Linked DNA regions of Homo sapiens: all the other regions are linked to region 1. The links are contacts of gene promoters, found by promoter capture Hi-C in blood cells and fetal thymus (Javierre and others, 2016). All regions are on one chromosome and are shown on one strand. The core of a region is centred on a gene start or on the middle of the fragment in contact, and the rest is flanking DNA. Distances in the headings are between cores, read along the strand shown. Region 1 holds the start of CCDC15 (coiled-coil domain containing 15). Region 2 overlaps PKNOX2 (PBX/knotted 1 homeobox 2). Region 3 overlaps PKNOX2 (PBX/knotted 1 homeobox 2).

Evidence for each region. Contacts are between HindIII fragments. The CHiCAGO score rates a contact against its expected background, and 5 or more counts as called.
Region 2: a fragment that was not itself captured here is called in contact with the fragment with the promoter of CCDC15 in region 1 in 3 of 17 cell types (endothelial precursors, M2 macrophages and M0 macrophages); the score reaches 5.8 in endothelial precursors.
Region 3: a fragment that was not itself captured here is called in contact with the fragment with the promoter of CCDC15 in region 1 in 1 of 17 cell types (M0 macrophages); the score reaches 5.1 in M0 macrophages.

What each region holds. Positions count from the first base shown.
Region 1 is chr11:124,952,520-124,956,268 of GRCh38, reverse strand. It overlaps CCDC15 (coiled-coil domain containing 15), which reads right to left and starts at 2,067. Exons shown (of 16, transcript NM_025004.3): 1 at 1,899-2,067; 2 at 1,360-1,545. The coding sequence starts at 1,536. CCDC15-DT (CCDC15 divergent transcript) reads left to right here and starts at 2,278. Exons shown (of 3, transcript XR_948134.3): 1 at 2,278-2,787. RefSeq lists an enhancer at 1,864-2,407. The HindIII fragment of the contact is 8,789 bases long and covers 1,569-3,749 here.
Region 2 is chr11:125,369,840-125,373,588 of GRCh38, reverse strand. The region is part of intron 5 of PKNOX2 (PBX/knotted 1 homeobox 2); the gene reads right to left. Among named protein-coding and RNA genes, the nearest start is that of PKNOX2-AS1, 100 kb to the right of the region's middle. RefSeq lists enhancers at 798-1,677, 3,440-3,749. The HindIII fragment of the contact is 701 bases long and covers 1,491-2,191 here.
Region 3 is chr11:125,326,225-125,329,973 of GRCh38, reverse strand. All of the region lies in intron 2 of PKNOX2 (PBX/knotted 1 homeobox 2), which reads right to left. Among named protein-coding and RNA genes, the nearest start is that of PKNOX2-AS1, 61 kb to the right of the region's middle. The HindIII fragment of the contact is 2,455 bases long and covers 452-2,906 here.

The DNA.
Region 1 (3,749 bases), core at 818-3,317:
TAATTATATTCTAATTTATCCCCAGGATCCAATCACTCCCTATCCTTCAAAACCTTTGAAGCAATTCATCTAAAGAAAACACTGGTTGATCATGACATTCACCTGTAAATATTAAACAAAGTCAATCCCTTCTCCAAAATTTCCTAAGGTACTCTACCATCCCTATTTTCCATAATCCTGTCAGCAACCATTCTCCTACTAAGCTTTCCACTCCAATCGATCTAATCTACCCTTAGAATCCTGAACCTTGCTTACTTCTTACTCTCCTCATTCTCCTTAATAGGAGAATCATTCCCTTCCCTTCTCCGATCAAATTCTTCATTACACTTTCCTGGGTCACATCAACCCAACGTCATAGCTTCTTGATTGAGCATTATATTCTTAGAACTTAGATAGAGATACCACCTAGACTCTTAAAATCCTTTTTGGAAATAGGCAGGGTAGGAATAAATCAATGAATATACATACATATGTGCAAACATAAATAAAATGAATATAGTATATTGCATTACTTTAACATTTAAACACATCTCATTTCTCTTCTGAGATCAAGTACACTGAGGGAACATATCTCATCCTTTTTTCATCCATGTTCAGCACCTTGTCTACACATACAGAAGACATTTTGTGCCTTTCATAAATACTTCATGAGTGTCTATATTGATTAGGCAGTATTTAAGATAAAAGTGGGAATGTGATGATAAATGACATTTGTTCTCTACGCTCAAGGAGCTCACACTGCATCAGGAAAAGATATATAAACAATCTACTATAACACAATGTGGTAAGTGCCAAGTTAAATTTGAACAAATAGCTAAGGGGCACAGTTTGGTGAAAGACTATCAGAAACCATGGAATTTCTAGTTAGACTTTCTCAGATTATCAGAGTTCATCTCTTTCTCCTTTATTCTATTACTCCATTTTGCCTGAATCCTCATTACAAAATTTATCATAAACCTTAAGCAACCAATTAATGTTACTTGAAGTATGCCAACTATCATCCATACTAAGTTGCAGTGTCTGGAAGATGTAGATAGTGCTTATGTCTTGGGCATAACAAGCAATCAAGAGTCTGAAGTAAACTGATATACAGATATATATCTATATAACCTGTTCCATGTAGATTATGCTCTATATATTATAGTAGGTGAGTAATAAATATTTGATTATGCCAACTAAAGCTGCAGTCAAGTTTTGGCAAATACTTGTTCTATAATCCTAATGCAAGAGCATAAACTATTTATGGCAGAATAGAAACAGCATCCTCGGACTGTTCATCTTTAAGCACCCAGGATTAGAGAAGGCTAATAAAAAGGGTGGTGGGGAACCCCACCATATTTGGATCAAACTGACACTCACATATGCTGGGATTTCCGAACTACCTGGTGAGGCAGGTTCCACCCATGCCCCAACTGGTACTATAGCCTCGTTCCTCTCAGCCAGCACTGCCAACACGTCCTTGCTCTTCAGGGGGTTTAAAGCCAGGGGCAACCTTGAGGTATTTCGAGGTTTCTTTCGGGCCATACTTCCCAGCATCTGTGACTCCTGATTAGGAGAAAGAAAAAGCTTAAAATCTTCAAATGACTGCATTAAAAGTTCAACCTCCTAACACATGAGCCACAGGCCCGTGAAAAGGAGAGAAGCCCTGGAGGCAGAAGCCTGGCATGAAGTGGAAACACACGGATTCTAGAGAAAAAGGAAGAAAAGAAGGGAAGAGAAATGGGAAGAAATAAAGAGGCAAAGAAAGGTTTTTAAGTTGCCTTCTAGAAGAAATGGCGATGAGAGGGAAGAGAAAGGATGGGAATGAGAGAACGAAGACTGTCCTCAGCTGTGGGCGCAGCGAGGCGGGAAGGGAGGAATGACAGCTGCAACCCGGAGAAAGAGGGAGGGGCGGGGACCTGTGTCTGCAGCCGAGAGTCCCAATAATCGGTATAGGTTATGGGAAGACGCGCTGAACGGCTGGGAGCCTCGGGCCAGATAAAAGCCTGCTTCTGAGGCCCCGAGGCCTGCTCCGGCTGAGATGGCACTGGCCAGGAATCGGCCCGCAGCTCGCCACAGACTCAGTCTACTCGGAGTACTAAGGTAACCGCCTCAAGTAGACCGCCACTTTGCGGTGGGCTGCTCCGTCCCGCCCATCCGTAGCCTTATGCCCGCCCTTTCCGGAGCCCGCGTCCCCTCCCGGAGCTGGGAAGGCGTGAGAGGTGGAGTTTCGAGCGCCCGAGGTATCGTCATTTCCTCTTCCTGTCCGGCTGAGGGGGCGGGGACGTGTGGGTAAGCGGAGTCGCTGGGTAATGCGCCATGTGAGGCGCGGTGGGACTGTCGTTCCTGGACCAACGCCGAGACTTCCTAAATCCCTCCGGAAAGGGATGCGTTGGGCCTGTGATCTGGCGACTAGGAGGGTCAGGAGTCCCAGTAGAGGGAATCACGGGAAAAGAATGAAAGAGGGAGGCGAGCCTGGCACGGCTTCCTGGAGAAACAAACTAAGCTAACAAATTTTTCGGATCCTTTGTGCAGCTAATTTTACAGTACTGTTTCATACATCTTATTATATTTGGACATCACGGCCTGTTGAGTGGTCTCCCTCTCTGCTGCAAGCTCTGCTGTAATCCAGAGACACTCAATTATCTCTGTAGGATAATTTATTCATTCGATTAACATACATTACTACTAACTTTTTATAAACCAGTACTGTTCCAAGCACCGGAGATACATAGCTATGAACGAAACAAATATCCCTGCTCAGGGAATTCACAATAGAGTGAGGGGAAATAAGCGAATAAACAATGAGTAAGTAAATGTGTGTGATGTGGAGTAAAAGCAAAGAAAGCGGATAGGGAGTGTGGTGGGCAGGGTGGGGATTGGAGGGATGAAATATTAGAACGTCCAGAGAAGCTGCACTGAGATACTTTTCAGCAAAGACTTAAATGAGTTAATGGAAGAAGCCACTGTGCTCTTCAACGGAGGCTTTATAAACATGTTCCAGATATAACAGCAAGTATAAACGCCCCAAGGTGGAAGCATTGCCTGGTTGAGAAAAAGTCAGGAGGATAGTGTGACTGGAGCAGAGGGAGAGTGGAAGAATGCTGAGACAGTAGGTCAAGCAGGCAATCCGATCAAACATCGTAAGCCACCATAGGTGTTGAGATGGGGAGCCACTGGAGCAAGGTTTGGAGCAAAGGAACACCATAATGTGACAAAATTAAAAAAATAATAATTCCGAATGCTGTAGTGAGAATAGACTGTAAAGAAGACCAATTAGGTGGCTATTGCAATAATTCAGTTAAGGGATTGTGATGTCTTGGATCAAGGAGGTAGTGGTGGAGATGATGATAAGTGGTTGGATTCTGTATCTATTTGGGAGGCAAAACTTTCAGGATCTGTTGAAGGTTTGGATATGGATTGTGTGAGGGAGAGATGTCAAGGAAAACTAGGGGTTTCATCCTGAGCAGCTGTCAGGATGAAATTACTATTTACTGAGATAGTGAAGATGGTGGAAGGAGTAGATTTGGAAAGGGGAAGATCAGGAGTTCAGTTTGGGGCAGATAAAGTTTTATCTAATCAACATCCGAGAAGATAGTATGAGAAAAAGTGTCTGGAGCTCAGAGAAGGGTTCTGGGCTACAAATATAAATCTAAGAGTCGTTAGCCTGTAGATTTAAAGCCATGAGACTGGATGGAGTCATCAAGGGGTTGAATATAGACAGATAAAAGAATAAATCCTAAAACAGCCCCAGGGTATGTCAGTATTAC
Region 2 (3,749 bases), core at 592-3,091, 420 kb before region 1:
CAACAGCGGCTGACACCCACAGAATGTGGACCACCTGCCAGGTTCTTTACCAAGCACATTACCTGTGTTATCTCACTTAAACCTCATGACAATCTAGATGAGGAGATGGTACTATTTTTAGCCCCATTTTACAGATGAGGAAACTGAGTCACAGAAAGTTTTAGTGTCCAGTGATGGAGCTAGAGTGTGAACCAGGCTGTGCTCGTGACCCCGATCCTGTCCCCCCGAATGTACCAGACTTCACATCCTGAATGGGCCAAAGCAGCATATGCTGGCTCCTCTGTTTAAAATACCCCAGTCTACTGAACACTGATCTGTATGCCATTTATTATCTTATTGTATTCTAGCTATTATCATTTTTCTTTTTGATAGTTGAGAAAACAGAGTCCCAGAGAGATGAGCTAGCCGATGGTGACAAAGCCAGTTCTCACCAAGTCTATTTCTAGAGCATGATTCTATTTCCCACTGCCCAACACAGGGCCATGGCTGCATTTGCACCTCTGGCTATAGGGCTGTCAGGATCATGCCGGGAACTTCCGTGACCTTTAGGATAGTCTCAAGGGAGTGATCTGAACACTGCCTACTGTCCTGCTCTGTTCCTCCCCACACAACTGTGGATTCTGCCATCCAGTCTGCATGAGACAGAAACAAGTGCATTATAAACAGGGCTCACATTGCTTTTATTGAACTAGAGCTGGACTTGAGCATGAGCTCTCTGGTGGTCCCATGTGGGTAGAAGTTCTGAGCTTGTGATGTGTGGGAGATGAGACTGACAGAATGAACTAGACACATGGTGTGGAAAGTGCAAGATTCTCAGAGCTAAGAAACTAAAGAGGAGGCAGAAGAATGGTTTGAAGCAGGGTTTCTGGAGCTGCGAGGAAGGAGATCATTCGCTGATAGACCAGGAAAGGCTTGAAAGCCACTTGGAAAAGATGGAGAAGTTTGGAGTGAAGATGGGGCTCTGCTGAAGCAGATGGAAAGAGACAGACTGCCTTGGCATTTAGGTGGAAAATCATCACTGAAGACACTTATAAAACACCTATCCACACCAGGTGCTGTTCCAAGAGTTCATTGATTAAGAGAGAACATTTCAAATTTAGAACCCAGGAGTGGACCAGATAGGACAGTGAGGACCAAGAATGTAGGATTGCAGCTAAAAGTATCAGTAACACCATTCTAAAGAACTGGCCTGTAAGATGGGCTTACGCATGTAAATCTAGAGACTGTGCGCCTGGAACCTGGCTCCCTAGGTGGGGTTTGGGCTTTGAGGCAGCGAGAGCCTCACGTCTTCCCTACTGCTCGGTGCCCTCAGGTGGGCGGTTTGGGATGGGCCATGGTATGAGTATTTACATCACGGGGATCAGCAAATGCTACGAATCGGAGCTGCTCCCCTTCCCCGCCTCGAGAGACGTTTGCCGGCACATCAACCTAGAACTATGGTATATTTATGGGGTGCTCCCTAACCATTTAATGAAGCCGTCCAACAAGCTTTGATGCAGTAGCTACTTCGTCTAAGCTGCTGACTCTAAGGTATCATGTAAGGTGCTGGGGATAAAGCAATGAGCAAGACAGACGCAGACCCTGTCCTCTGGAGTTAACAGTATAGCAGGGGAAACAGAAATAAGGTTGACACAAATGCTAACACAGTTAATTCAATTGTGAGTAATGCCACAAAGGAGACAGGCAGAGTCCGGAAGCCACCTCACCCTCTATCCCTGACCTGCAGCTCCACTCTCTGGGTTCTTAATGGAAAGGCAAAGCACCACTGCCCTCACTGTCTTCTCACTGCTCATGCCTCCAGCCCAGCTTTTCCTTATCAGTAATGGGCAACAACTTTAGCACCTCCGCGTCCCTGGTTCTCGGAGAGAATCTTTCAGCCTTAGGGAAGTGAGCCAACACCTTAGCAGAGCAGTCTTCGCAAAGCCAACCTCCTCCCCCACCCGCACCTGGCCAGGCCTAGCTCCTGCCCCTCTTCCGCTCCTCAGGACACCATGGTTTCCATGGGAACCCACTCACTTCAAAGGGGAACGAAGGAGACTGGAGGGGAGGAGGGGGAGGGAAAGCTGGATTAACCTCACCCTCTTGGCCCTGCCTCTGCGCCGCTGGCAACCTAATCCCCTGATTTAGGCAGCCCCTAACATCGGACTCCTCACCAGCATGGGCGGGTGGGGCTTGTGGTTCAAGCTAAGCTTGAACTTCTTTGGGAGAAAACCCCAGGGTTGAGGTGGGGGCTGGGGGAGGAGAGAACTGAGCTGGGTCCAAACCTGTGGTCCCTCACTCCACCGGCCTCCCCTCTTTGGACCCCCTCTCAGTGCTGCTCCTGGGCCACAAACACAATTACCCGCGATGTGCATCCAATCATGGGATCTGCTCGGATTAGACTGCAATCATTAATCTGAGCCGGAGCCCCTGGTTGCTTTGCTGATTAGTCCAGATGACGCTCTGGTATGATCCAATTAAAGACAGACGCTGCCCTCCGTCCCCCACCCCACAGTTTCCACATCAGAAGGGAACCAGTACATTTCATTAACACATCCTCATACACAAATAAAACCTCCCGGGCACTGGCAGGCTCCCTCCCCTTTGTCACACTGCCCCTCTGCCACCGAGCAGTGTCCTAGGCAGGGAGGGGCCACACCCACCCTTCCTTCATCTGTGGTTCTAGCAGGGGCCATGATGGGGGCTCCCAAAAGCCAGTGTGGGGCACTCATCTGAATGGAAAGGGTCTGGTTACACTTATTGACATAAAATGCCGACTCCCTGATGTGCTTTGGAGCAGCCAGGCTGCCCCAGGCAGGCAAATCTAATTAAAATTACCCGACCCTACAGGAGGCTGAGCTCCCTCCCTGGTCATCCCGGGGCAATGGCTGCAGAGAGGGCGGCTGGTACTAATGGGTGAGATGTGGTTGTAGGAGACAACCCTGGGGCTGCCGGGCCAGGAGGCAGCAGCAGGACTAGAGAGATGGGAAGCCAGCATGGTGCTGCTGTCAGCTCGGTGTCCTGAGGTGCTGGGGCAGCCGCGTTTGCCTGGGATTCCCTCTTCCAGGTCAGACAGCTGCAGACATACTTTGGGCAAACACCAAGGGTTGCGGGTGGTTAGCCCGGTGGGAGAAGATAAAGCCCAGGAGGGAAGGGGAGTAGGAAGAAGTGTTAATTGCAGAAAGGTCTAGGCCATTCTTCAAGTGACATCCATGTGGTGGCTCCCATGGGGGCAGTGACCCACCTCTCCTGCAGGTTGGCCTGGGTAGGGTACGAGCCTGGGATTGTGAGAAGGGCTTTGGAACCCATGGTTCCCATTGGTGGGACAGAGTAAACCCTCTGTTTGGTGCTGGACGCAGGGCCAGGTGCCTCCACGGGCCGTCTCATTGATTCTTATCAAGTCTGCTGCTTAGGTTCCATCGGGACATGAAAGCTCAGAGAGGCTAGGACACAGTGGAGGTGGGACTCAAACCTAGGTTTCCAAAAACTATTCGTTACACCACTCATCTGGAGGGCTTTCTAGACCATGATCTATGCTCACTACAGGCCCCTGACCCAGGGGTCTGAGCAGCTGCGAGGTGAGTCTTCAGTATGCATAGGAATCCCCTGGGATCTTGTGAAAATGCAGATTGAGTCCTTAGGCCTGAGTGAGCCTTAAGAGCCTGCATTTCTAATCTGCTCCCAGGTGATACGATGCTGCCAGTCCACAGGCCATACTTTGAGTAGCAATGCTCCAAATAGAGTATGACAAGCATATGTCATCAGGCTGT
Region 3 (3,749 bases), core at 430-2,929, 370 kb before region 1:
GCCTCACACCTGTGATGGGCTTACAGCTGTGGCACCACGTCCTCCAGAAGTACAACGACTTCCTGCTCAGAGAAGGCCTTCAACACACATCTGCTCATTGTCGAAAAAGCAGCTGGCCCCGACTGCCTTTCTAGACTCATCTTCCACCCTGCACCATGGCTCTCTACTCTCCAACCACTCACAACACTTGCCATTCTCCAAACCCGTCCACAACTTCCCACTCCCCTCAATGCCCGATTCTATATTTCTGTCTGATCAGATATTTCTACCTGAACCATTCCTCAGTGTTCATGCAAACATTCTGGCTGCTACCTCCACAGCCAGAAGTAATTTTTCCTCCTCTGTGCTTCCAAATAACATGCTGCTTGTCATTCTCTGAAAGCTCTAGTCACATCCTGTCTCATGCTATGGTTATCTTAGATATCTTTCATCTCCTTCCAAACTATAAGCTTCTCATGGGCAGAAGTCCTATCTTAAATCTGTATAATTTTTTCAGTTCACAAAGTACTTTCATGTGTAATATCTTCTTTAACTCTTAAAACAACCTTTAAAAGTAGGTATTTTAATATGATGATTTTGTTACCTTTAAAAAATAGCAAATGCTTCTTGTAAAAAATAGACAAATAAGAGGAAAAATGTTAAGTTAGTAGCAATCCTACAATACAAATATAAGCTACAGTTAATATTTGGAGTAAAATGCTTCTTTTTTAAAAGCAGTATCATATTTTCATACTGTTCACTAAATAGCCTTTTGTATTTAACAACATATCATAAACACCTTTTCATGTAGGAGGAAAATATATTATAATTTTAATGATTATGGCATTCCATTTATGGGTATACTATAATTACTCAGACAAATTCTTCACATTTGTTGTTTAGATTATTTCCAGTTTTTGCTATTATAAACACATAATGACTATTCTTGCAGTGGACTCTTGCTCCAGACTTGATCATTTTCTTAGGATAAGTTTCTGGATGTGGAATTGCCAAGTCCAAAGGTGTGTTCGTCTTAAGGAATTTTTACAAATTACTTGCAGGAAGGTCATACCCATTTACATCCTATCAGCAGCGTATGAGAGATGCCTTTCCCTTGCCAGGTAGTTGCTCTTATTTTGTAGATGTGGAAAATGAGGCTTAGGAAAGTCAAGCACAGGGCTTGCCTAAGAAAACAGCCAGCAAGTGGCGTGTCTTCTGACTCCAGACATTTTGTTCTCCCAAGCTCTCTGCTTCTCTTTGCCCTTCTATTTCTTACCAATCCAAAGAGAGTGCCTGCAGTAGTAAGTGCTAAATTAATGTTGCACTCCCGGAAGGAGAGGCAGAGGCGGCTGTGCCCTGAGTGGTGGGGTGGGCCAATCCTGGGAGCTTTGCTAACATCAGCCTTTTCCGGGTGTCTGAGGCTGACTTGGTAAATGACAGATCTGTTCTTTGGTAGCTTTTTACTACTCCTTCCTGCCCTGTACCTGGGAAGGTACAAATTGCTTCAATTTAGTCCCCATATATTAAGAATCTACCTTGTGCTGGGGCCTGGGCATCAAAGACACAACACACATACTATCTGTCTCTGTCTCTGTCTCTCTTTCTCTCTCACTCACTCTCTCTCTCTCTCTCACTCACTCTCTCTCTTTCTCTCTCTCTCCCCCGCTCTCTCCCTGTCTTCTAGGTGTTTACAGTCTAGTGGGCAAAATAGAAGGTAAAGAAATAATTGCCACCTACAATGTGTGTGTGATGCTGCTTCTGACTGTCAGCCTCCAGATCCCACAATGGCCAGAGCAGGGCTCAGGGCCAGGGTCAGGGCTGGGGAGGGGAGGAAGCCCTGCCTGCCTGGTGTGGCCTCCAGCCTCTGTCTCTTTCATTGTGTCCCTCCTGGTGCTGGGGTTCCAGGGCTCCCTTCGACATCCTGCCATAGCCATGTGTTCCTTGTCTTTCTGCTCTAGCTGAGCCTCTGCTGCCCCCACCCCAAGACGACACAGAGGAGCTACAACTCAGAGAGGAATCACTCCAATATTAGGGAAAGAAGCTGACCCTGTTCTCCACTCAGGGAATAAAACACACATTTGAGAGAGGAAGGACGATCAGAGGTGACACCAGCATGCCCTCACACAGGGCACCGCTTCAGGGCTACAATACACTTGGAATTCTCCTTCCCAGAACTGACAACTGCCGAGTTCCATTTGTTTCCCAACAGCCTACAGAAAGCTACAAGGCATAAATACAGTCTGTAATCTCCTTCCTGTCACTGCCAGCAATTCCACCAAGCACAAGGGGGACCACTCACATGACAGAGAGCCAGGACTGCAGGGAGGAGGAGACCCCTGATGGCCGCGGCCATCCTCCCAGTCTCCAACCCTCCTCTTGCCCTCCACACTCAAGCTGTGTGCCCCTTTCTAGATTGCAGGCAGAGGGACCCAACAATCTCCTTTTTGTCACCATGCAGAGCTCTTCCTCTCTGAAAGCTAATAAGCAGCACAGCAGGCAGGGCCAAGCCACAGATGCAGACAGAAAGTCAGAGAGAAATGGAAGGATGGGAAGACACGGGGCTGTGTGACCCAATGACCCGGATGGTTCAGGGAACAAGAAAGGAAGCAAGAGCTTCACACTGAAGATAAAGTTCCTCTGTCCTCACGACCTCCCCACCTCCAGCACTGTAGCTCCCACAGGCCTCTCTCTGCCTATCCAAGTTCATTCTACTGGACCCGTCTATGGACATGGGCTGGCTTCCCCACAGATCACCTTTGCCTGTTTTGCCAACTTGTGCTTAGGCTTTTTGCAGATGAGTTGGATAAGTGAAGACCGAGCCTCTGGAATCTGTGGCCAGAGACCCAAACTAAAGACTTGTCCCCTGTCCACTCTGGGAAGGTTACCCCCACTCTGGTATCTATCTCAGGAGCATAAAACACCAAGCTTTTTTGTCCCAGTTGGCCCAAGAGCCTAAAAAAGCATCTGTTCTCACTCTGGAGCCCACCAAGGGCCTCTTCTTCCGTGAGTGCGGTGATGAAAGTGTGGTTTGCCTACACGGACACGCCAGCAGTCCCTAATAGCTGATGTTTGTGAATCCTCAGGCTTCACCTCCCTGCTGGCGGGGGTGAGCTATGGAGGTGTGGCAGCCAGGACCAGCTTCATCACACATTTGCTCTGTGATGTTGGATGAAGCATGCCACCGGTTTAAATTCTGTTTCCTCCTCATCATTATTGGTTTTCACCATTGCCATCTATAAACAAGGGGCTGGACCTGACAGTGTGACATTCTCTGATCTCATTCCCTGATGATGCTTGATCGGCTGTTAAATTCAACTGTCATCCCAGGGAAAGGCTCAAGTTTCACCAAGGCAATGAGGCTGATCTCAAAGACACCAGATGCCAATCCTCTAGAAAGAGAGGGGCTCTTTGGAAGCTAAAATAATTCATCGACTTGTTTATGGTGTTTCTCCTCTGCTCAAAAGTCTACAATGGCTTGCCAGGGCCTAAAAGACAAAATTGATATTTCTTAGCTTCCATTCTTCCCCTTCATAATCAGCCTGACCCTACCAATCTTACCTAATCCCCCACTACTTTCAAATCTGAACCTTTTCTCCAGCCAGTCCAGGCTGCCACTGCCTCACAGCCAAGCACACCCCCTGTGTGAGTTCCCTGGCCCACCTGCCACGCTTCCCTTTCCTCTGTTGTCCAGGTCCCATCCAACCTGCAAAGACCAGCTCAAGTCCTGCCTTTCTGCAGCCGAATGAACTCAGCCTCTTGCCCTCCTCACC